2 separate regions of the Homo sapiens genome follow, and region 1 is linked to region 2. Evidence: promoter capture Hi-C in human tissues and cell types (Jung and others, 2019). All regions are on one chromosome and are shown on one strand. The core of a region is centred on a gene start or on the middle of the fragment in contact, and the rest is flanking DNA. Distances in the headings are between cores, read along the strand shown. Region 1 overlaps UNC5D (unc-5 netrin receptor D). Region 2 holds the start of UNC5D (unc-5 netrin receptor D).

Region 1 (4,723 bases), core at 1,900-4,399, 270 kb after region 2:
AAGCAACTCTACCATTTGAATCAGCACTTGGCTCCTTCACACCCCTTAACTTTAATCATGACAATTGATCTGCAAATCAAGTTGAGGGAAGAGCTTGGGGATTGGTTCAGATGAATAGCTTCAATAAATGAAATGTTTCTCTAGCTAAGAATAAACACCACACCACAGGGGCAATTATGATCAGGGCAAGATTCAGTTTTATTTTTTACTATCCTCCTGCCAGTTTGCAAGTCCATGCATTAGCAAACATTTTAGACCTAAGAGCTGGTAGGCACCTACATGAAGTCGATAATTACACTTAAGAGAAAACTCAACTTTAGCCATCCTTTGTGGAAGATTGAGTATTAGCCTTGCTATCATTTAGTTCTCCCTCTTGGTTGTTTATTTCTTTGATTCATCATAACTTAACTGACCGAATGACAGAAATTTCCCCACCCAACAAACCACATGTGATTCAGTGACTGTACTGAGTGTACAAAGATCATTTGTTGGGGAAACTTTGTTCTCTGGAGTGAACACTTTTAAACAAATGTGGCAAATATATTTTAATTATGTCTGTGCTGGCATCATTTAGCCAGAGGAAACATTTTTTTGAGGAGCCATTTAATCTCCCTTTGAAAGTTTTGGGTTTAATGTAGAAAAGCTTTATGAGAAGAGTAGCTTAGAGGGAGGAATAGGGCCCAGGACAAGCTCCAGGAGCACTGCAAGCTGTTTATAAGCAGCATGGAACAGACCTGTCTTCATTCTCAAGCAGGGCATTAATAATATGGAACAGTTAATGCCTTCTATTGCTTCTCAGCTATTGCTCATTAGTTGGAGCATTGCATGATATTGAAAAACATCCATGAATCATGCAGACACAAACATTTCATTCTCTCATCCCCTACCCTTACAATGTTTTATTAATGCTTATACTGGAAATGCAAAATATCTGACACTCTAATTGGATTCTGTGCAAGTGAAACTATCAAATTGGGAATAGTAAACATCTTGCACCACTCAAACCCTAAACAGTATTGAACAACAACAAAAACAAATTATCACCCTCACCTTTCATTTTAAATAATTGATTTCATATTTGAATGACATTAAGCCATGTATTCTGATAGTATTAATTAGTTTTCAAGGAAATATGTCTTTGCCTCTTGTCTTAGTCTATTTTCTGAATAAGAAAATAAATTTATTTCTTATAGTTCTGGAGACTGGGAAGTCCAAGAGCATAGTGCTAGCATCTGTTGAGGGCCTTCCTACTGCATCATAACATGGTGGAGGGCATTATATGGCGAGAGGGAGAAAGCCAGAGAGAGCTTGCTTTTATAGTAAAGCCACTCCCATGATAAGGAACCCACTGTCCTGATAGTGACACTAACCCATTCATGAGGGCAGAGAGATGTTTTTAACCCATTAACTTTTGGGGGCTACATTTAACCTGTAATGCCTTTTATTGACTCTATTAGGCTTATAAGATGTTAAGTACTTCTATTAAACCATTCATGTTCCTATTCAACTGTATATTTATGTGACCCAATGAATGAAATATTTTATTCTCTGTGGAAGTAATCCCTGACATCTTTCTTTTCTGAACTTCTCACAACACTGTCTGTAAACCATATTTATGCTACTCGTCACATTATAGTTTAACCCACTGAGGTTTTTGACCTTGCCTACTAGGCTGCGGGTATCTTGGGCTGGTTATTATCCTCATATTTAGCACAGAGCCTTGTATATCACGGCTGCGTGATAAATGATTGGTGATTGATTGAATGCATGTGTATGAACGGATGACTTAAAGCAAAAGATCAGGCTGAATTCACTGGATATTTTCCACATTTAGGGGCAAGGGAGAATGACAAGTATGACATTTTAAAATGTTTTAGTTAAAAATAAGATCCAAAACCTTTCTAATAGGGGTTTGGAAATTGTTAAAATTCAAAGGAAATAGGAGGAAAGTAGCATTTAGAGTACCATGATTCTTGGTACTGCACCTCTGGGTGCTTTCCCATGAGCTCTGTGAGGTCAGGGGACATGTCTGACTTGTTTGCCAGTGGTTAGCACAGCACTTGTTACATAGTAGTTGCTCAATAAATACCTCATGTCTGACTGACCAAAGGCTGTCTGCCCAGAGAGTCAGCCATGAAACTACTCTGGAAACACTGACACGGTTCAGAAAACGTGATTACCAAGGCATTCGAAATAATGCCATCTATCTAGAAAGGCTTAGTGTCAGAAAAAACTTTTCCAGAGAACTTTGTCACTTCCAGGTGCTGCCTGACCAAGGTTGAAAGCAAAGAGTCCCCACCAGTTGGCCTCCCACATGTTTGTGCCCTAGTTGTAGCTTTTGTACTGATGGTGGCTTTCCTTTATGTTTCTATACTTGAAGGCATAAGGCCGGGGAAAGAAAGCTTTCAAATTCAGATCACTATGGGCAGAGCCCCTGAGTGGAGCAGTGGGGCTCTGTGAGGAAGATAGCTATAAGCTCCTCTTGGAGGGAAATGCCTCTCAAGTCACCCACAGTCAAAGCTTAGCTGAAGATGTCTCAGCTTTTGAAATCTCCGTGCAAGGGCAGAAGGCAGATGTTATAAAACAAATAAGTCAGAAAGCCTCCAAAGTTCTGAGTAGTTTGTATCTTTTAAAAAAAGAAGAAACAAAAATTTAAAATCATGACTGTTACCATTCAGAATTGATATAAAGGATTTGCATTCAGTTACCCCACTCTTACCATCATTAGAATGTACTTCATAAATATAAAATTCCCATGAGCCTTACAAAGTTCCTGCTCTGGTAGTTTACCTCTGAGCAAATACTACTTTGTGCTTTATTTGATGTGTTAACAAATAAAACTTTGTGTGTTGAAGAAAGTGATCTGTGTTAATTGATATGTTTTCCCCTAACTTCGGCATTAAACAAATGTGAGAGAGATGATTATTTGTGATAACTTGCCCTCCGCTTAATATTTAAAGTTTGAGTATTTTTAAATTGTACATAAATAAAATATGAATTTATAAGACAAGAGACTACAAAAGGGATGATGCATTGTTTTCAGCTGGCAAGAGAGACTGCTACTACCAGTGTTTTACGAGCATATTAATCCTCATTGGTACATATAATGTGTTGGTCTCCCATAGCCAATTATAAACATGTTTTATGGGAAGTTATCCCTCAATTTCTGCAGAGTCTCACTAAGGTAAGCATATCATGGCAGAGCCTACCGAAAGCACTCAGAGGGCTGGATAAACAGTCCAATGGTGGGTGAACTTAGAGATGAGGGATGCCTATAACGTTTATCCTTCTTATAAGCCAAAGCTCTTTTCCTGTAAAGAGTAGGTGCTATTCAGATCTAAGCAGAGTTGTCACACATGCGTGTGGCAGGATCAAATTTCAGGACTGCCATTACCATCCTGGTTATCCCAGATGACCATGGGAGCTCCCTGGACTTCAGTCCTGCCAATTCTTCCTAACTAAAATTATTTCAAATAAAATATCTCAAATGGATTTGAGTTCTTTCTAAGGCTGTGTACTAAGGATTTTGCATGGATTCTCTTCGTTTTTTTGTTTGTTTGTTTTCTTTTTTGAGATGGAATCTTGCTCTGTTGCCCAGGCTAGAGTGCAGTGGTGCGATCTTGGCTCACTGCAACCTCTGCCTCCCAGGTTCAAGCGATTCCCCTGCCTCCGCCTCCTGAGTAGCTGGGACTACAGGTGCACACCACCATGCCCGGCTAATTTTTTTTTTTTTGTATTTTTAGTAGAGACGGGGTTTCACCATGTTGGCCAGGATGGTCTCAATCTCCTGACCTCGTGATCTGCCCACCTCAGCCTCTTAAAGTGCTGGGATTACAGGCGTGAGCCACCGCGCCCAGCCTATATGGACTCTCTTATTTCATCCTCACAGAAAGGATGATCCTGTTATTTTCATTTTTCTTAATAGGCAAGGAAACTATGCTCAAGCTCCTTGCTACTCAAAGTGTGGTCCATAGACCAGGAGCATGAATATCACTTTGGAATTTGTTAAAAATACAAAATCAGTTGTAGAAGTACAAATCAGTTATCCCCAGAACAACGGATTCAAAACCTGAATTTTTACAAGATACCTGGGTGACTTGTAGCCTTGCCTAAATTCTCTCAGCTAAGAACATGGCAGAGCAGGGACTCAAAGTGTGTGGCTGGCACTAGAAATCTGACTTGGGACAGTGATCTCCCAGAGATCACATAGTCGGTGTATTAGTCCGTTTTCATGCCGCTGATAAAGAGATACCTGAGACTGAGTAATTTATAAAGAAAAAGAGGTTTAATGGATTCACAGTTCCACGTAGCTGGGGAGGCCTCACAATCATGGTGGCAGGCAAGAGAGAATGAGAGCCGCGTCAAAGGGAAAACCCCCTATAAAGCCATCAGATCTCCTGAGACTTACTCACTAGCATGAGAGCAGTATGGGGGAAACCACCCCCATGATTCAATTATCTCCCACCAGGTCCCTCCCACAGCATGTGGGAATTATGGGAGTTACAATTCAAGATGAGATTTGGGTGGGGACACAGCCAAACCATATCAGTTGGCAAGTGTCAGGGAAAGGATATGACCCTGTGCTCAGGACTGTGAATATTTCACTCTGTTTTATTCACATTCTCTCAAGAAGGAAGGAATGGAGGGTAATTAGTAGTGTAAGTTTTTGTTAATTAAAATGGTTAAACACTATGCTGGTGGCTTCCTTAATAGAAAGGGAGTT
Region 2 (4,718 bases), core at 1,577-4,076:
ATTACATCCTGCTGTTTCTTGGCCAGAGACAGTGATCCTGGGTAGCAACTACTCAACTTATTTCTCCAAATAGATATACATATTTCTCCATAATGGAATAAAGTACAATTCACACATGTTAAAAAATAGCCAGGATTAGATTAATATAGGGTATATTACCATCTGAAACATAATAGTGATGTGCAATTAATACAGTGTGTATAATACTAAAGATTCAACTTCTGTCAACCCGGTATCTAAACAGTTCTGAGGAGGATGAGGTGGAAAGTCTATCTCTGGAAAACCTGATTGAATGGATGCTACCTCAGCCTTCATCTTGGGTTTAAAATTACACAAACTAGTATATCATTCATGACGTTCAGCCACTTACTAATGTGATCTTGGGCAAATCACCTTTAAACTCAATCTGACTTTCCTCACTTGCTAAATAGGAATAATAACGCCTACCTTGCAGGGTTTGGTTCTGCTTTAAAATAATAATCTGCATGAGAGACTCAATCCTTGAGCATGGTATACACTAAAAGGTTATTAATTTCCCCCTTCACTCTCATTTGTCATTGCAATTTTACTTGAATTATTAACCTAAAATTAGCTTATCTATTACTTATATCCCATTTTGAAATAAAACTGATTTTATTTTTGCCCCCAGTGGGTCAGTAGAAAGACTTAAATAGTATCTTGGACACATAGTAATTCTTTTTTCCTTTTTTGTTCTAAGAAAATCCTCATTTGTGACAGAACTGCCACATAGTCCTGAAGAATAAGGAAAGTCAGGCGATGAATGACTATTTTCCAGAAGACAGGTAAAGCATATTTGGTAGATTAATTCTCAATTCACCTTCTAAGCAGAAAAGGACAAAACCCTCATTTACCAAGATTCTAAAGAGATTTCCAGGCAAGTCCCTAGCCAGCCCCACATCAGTCTTTGCTTTGAAGCATCCATTCCCCAGAGCTTGGTTTTCTTGACTAGGTCCCAAACCTTTTATTGAGCCGCAAGGCGACCGGAGGAAACAATCGGCTTCTTGCACAGACATTCACGTGTCTGGTGGCACTCAAGAGAGGGCTGGCACAAAAGTGCTTATCAGAGAATCAATCTTTTTTGCCTATTATCTTCCTTTTCCTCGGAAGAAAGTGAGTTAGTGCAATTACCTCATCTAGAACAATTACCTCACCTTAAACTGTTTATTCTTCAGAGAAAGGCGTTTGGGAGCAGGTAGCACATTGGCGGGAGACATGGATTTTTGAAAAGTACTTGATGTTGAGCGTGGGTAGTGAGGAACTGCTGGGAAGGTTGCCTTTCAAACCAAGGCTCCCTTTTCTATGGGGGATTACCAGGCAAAAGGTGAGCTCTGCTGCCATTTTGAGGACTCGATCCTGGCAGCGATAATGAGGTAGTCCAATTGGGGAGCCTGGGACTCCCCACCAACTTCCTGGGTGTGCTCTGAAATTGAGTGACCTAGGACAAGCTCTCTAAAGTTACTCCTCCAGCAGAGGGAAGAGGCAACCGTGAGGTATTTTCGAAAGCAGTTAAATAAAAATTTGATAATCTATCTAAAACAAGCCACACTTAAAAAAAAAAAAAAAAAGAGTCTTCTTTCCTTCTTCTTATAAAAGTCCAGCGCGTTTCAAAGTCCTTTTAATTGTCAGGCCCAGAGAGACATTAGAATGAGACCACAATCATGCCCTACTCCTTCCTTTAAACTATATATTCATTTCTTAAAACTACATACTATTACTACAAATAGCTATAAATTAACCTAATAATACCACATCAAACAGTATAACCCACATCCTATGACTTAACTATATATAACTAATCACTAATCGACATTATTTCAATAAATCAGTATAAATTCCTAACAATGTTACATCAGTCCACTCCCCATCCCCCTTTTTTTTGCCTTTAAGAATCCACTTATAACTACTACTAATCAAAATATATATTCAAAACAACTTAAATCTATACTCCTGAGTTGCAATCCTCACACTTGGCCCAAATAAACTCTTACTTATATTAATTTCGCCTCACCTTCTTCCTTTTTAAGTCGACACTCCTTTCCCTGATACTTACCAGAAGGCAATTCCTTGGGCTCAGATTAAAACTGACAAAAATAGGAGCCATTCGAAATGAGGGAGCTTCTGAAAAGTTTGGGGATTCCGGAGTGTTCAGGACAACAGAATAGGGAATTCGAAAAAAAAAGAAAGCAAAAATAAAAATCGATTATACAAGCCTTAATGCACCCATGATTGTTATTCCCCACTTCTTTATTTATATGAATGAAGTTAGCATAGTTGCAGCAATGGAGTAACTCCATTATTATTTTTTCCCACTACGCATTTATTTTAAGTCTTTCTTTTTCTCAGGATGTTTTCCTGAGTGATGTCTGATCTAATGGGAAAAAGTGGAAGTAGGAGAGGCAGGACTTTAGAAGGGCTCAAAGTAGATGAACAAAACGGAGGTCTCCTGGAAGCAGGTGACTGAGTTAGGCAACCGAGATGCCCACATATCTGTGCGGCGTTCGCCCCAAGAGGCCAGCCGGCTCCGCTCAGCTCCCCGCGGCGTGGCCGCATCCCCGCCGCCCGACTCCCAGCCCGCTTCCTCTCTCCGCGAGCGGGGGGGGGAGCTGCAGGCGGGGCCCGAAGCGCCCCGGGGGCACGTGGAGCGGCCTCTGGCTCACCTGCGCCTCCCGGGCCCCAGCCCAGCGCCGCCGCGTCACCGCCCCTCCCGCGGCCCCGCCCCAGCCCGGCTCATTGGCTGCCGCTCGGAGGGGAGGGGAAGGGGCGGCTGCGGGGGTCTCATTAGCGATGCGGACTCTCGCCTCCGCTCCGTAGTTCGGGGCCCGGCAGCGGCGCGAGGGCTGGGAACTGCGCGGCGGGGACTGCGGGCGACTCCGGCATCCGCGCTGGCGGCAGCGGTCGCCGCGCCGTGGGAAGCTATGGGGACGCGCCCTTTCTCGGGGTGCCCATTCAGCGGCGGCTCGGAGCTCCCTGCCCCGCTGCTTTAGGAAGCGATCGTGGAGCAGAGTCACTCTCTGAAGACTCCCGAGACCCATTCGACTCGGGACCCTCATCGCCGACCCTTTCCCGGGCTCCCGGAGCGTGAAGAAGAGCCGCCCTCCGGAACGCGGCGAGGAGCATGGGGAGAGCGGCGGCCACCGCAGGCGGCGGCGGAGGGGCGCGCCGCTGGCTCCCGTGGCTGGGGCTGTGCTTCTGGGCGGCAGGGACCGCGGCTGCCCGAGGTAAGCGCTGGGCGGAGCGGGCAGCTGGGGGCGAGGGCGCAGGGGCGCCAGCCTGACGGAGCGGGACCTGCACCGATGGCGTTGGCTTCCCAACTTGCGCCCTGCACCTCGGCGCTCCAAGCCCAACCGGATGGGAGCCGAGTGGAGGACTCCGAGGGGACCACAGCCTTCCAACCCAAGTTTGCGATCTGCCGCAATCCTACAGGTGGCTGTGACCCGGGCCCCTACCGTTTTCCTGGACCCTCCTTGCCTGCTCCATTTTCCAAGCCCTCCCCAATTGCTGCAGACTGGAGTAGCCCGGTCTTCACTCCAATCTCGCTCTCCCCTCTCCTCTCCACTTCCTCTCAAGCCGAGCTTGGTCATGAGTTAGCGCCCATAGCGATGTCGGAGAGTTCCTGGGGAGAGGGGCCAGGTGATGGGAGTGTCTGTAGGGTGGGCTTGAACAGAGAGGGTGTCTTTTCCCTTAGGGGAGGAACACCCATGCTGAAGTCCCTTCGCTCTGCGCCTAGCTTGGCACCCCTCGGGCGTCCTTAGCCCGAGGTCCCAGCCAGCCCTGGAGCTCGGGAGAGCGGCGTGCACCATCCCAGTTTAACCGCGCCTGCAGTGCCCAGCCGGGATGAGCACTTGGCCCGAGGCTGCTCACCAGGCGCCTCCTCTCCCTTCCCGGCGCCTACTCTGGCTTGGAAGCGCGGGCCCCACCGAGCCGCAGGGAAACCTCTGCTTCTTTCCGACTTAGAAGCCTAGACCCCATTTTCTTGGATCCTCTGGACTCCAGCAGAGGGAAATTTCGCAACTGGTTTCAGCTCCACCTTGAGCGAGGACAGGCAGCATCAAGTTAAAGATAAATCCCAAGGAGTTGTTTTGAAGATGATCAGAGGCAGTTTCAGACACAGCTCAAGTACCGGAGCTTTACCTTTGAAAAAAATCGGAAGCTTTGCCTTCCCGCCCTTCTTTCCCTTTTTCCTTCTCTGTGTTCCATCCATCAGGCTTAGAATATGTGATACCGTTAAATGATTTGCCTTACACTTGCCAGGGGAGAGGTGGAGCTGAGCTGACCACTTCACCTGCTCTGTTCGGTCTCCTGAACATGCTCCGACCAGCCTGGAGAGTGAAAGGGTGGAAAGGGTTGAGGACGATCACAAAAGAACCAATGTTATCTCATTTTTATAAAAGCTTATGGCGTGTTAAAAGCAGTCCGGCTGCCTAGAAAGATTTTCTTTTTAAGAGGTTGATAGAGGCTCTCCATTGTATGATCCTATTCTTTGCCCATTTGCATTTCATTTCCTGAAAAGTTTTTTTTTTTTTTTTTTTTTTTTTTTAATGGAGCGGGCTTTGTAAGAAGCAGGGGAGGTTTAAAAATGAGCGTCGGTGATTGTACACCCTGGGTTATGATGAACCACAGTTCCTTCTCGTACTGGAAGAAGCACAAGCTTCAGCCATTTAATTTACTACGTACGGCAAATGTCTCATTGCAAAGTC

What was found. The method cuts DNA at HindIII sites, captures the fragments that hold promoters and counts their contacts. A contact is called where the count stands out against the background at its distance.
Region 1: a fragment that was not itself captured here is called in contact with the fragment with the promoter of UNC5D in region 2 in 2 of the 25 tissues and cell types used here (aorta and spleen).

What each region holds. Positions count from the first base shown.
Region 1 is chr8:35,499,006-35,503,728 of GRCh38, forward strand. The region is part of intron 1 of UNC5D (unc-5 netrin receptor D); the gene reads left to right. Among named protein-coding and RNA genes, the nearest start is that of UNC5D, 270 kb to the left of the region's middle. The HindIII fragment of the contact is 3,255 bases long and covers 1,523-4,723 here.
Region 2 is chr8:35,232,649-35,237,366 of GRCh38, forward strand. UNC5D (unc-5 netrin receptor D) reads left to right here and starts at 2,827. Exons shown (of 17, transcript NM_080872.4): 1 at 2,827-3,239. The coding sequence starts at 3,137. The HindIII fragment of the contact is 15,361 bases long and covers 1-4,718 here.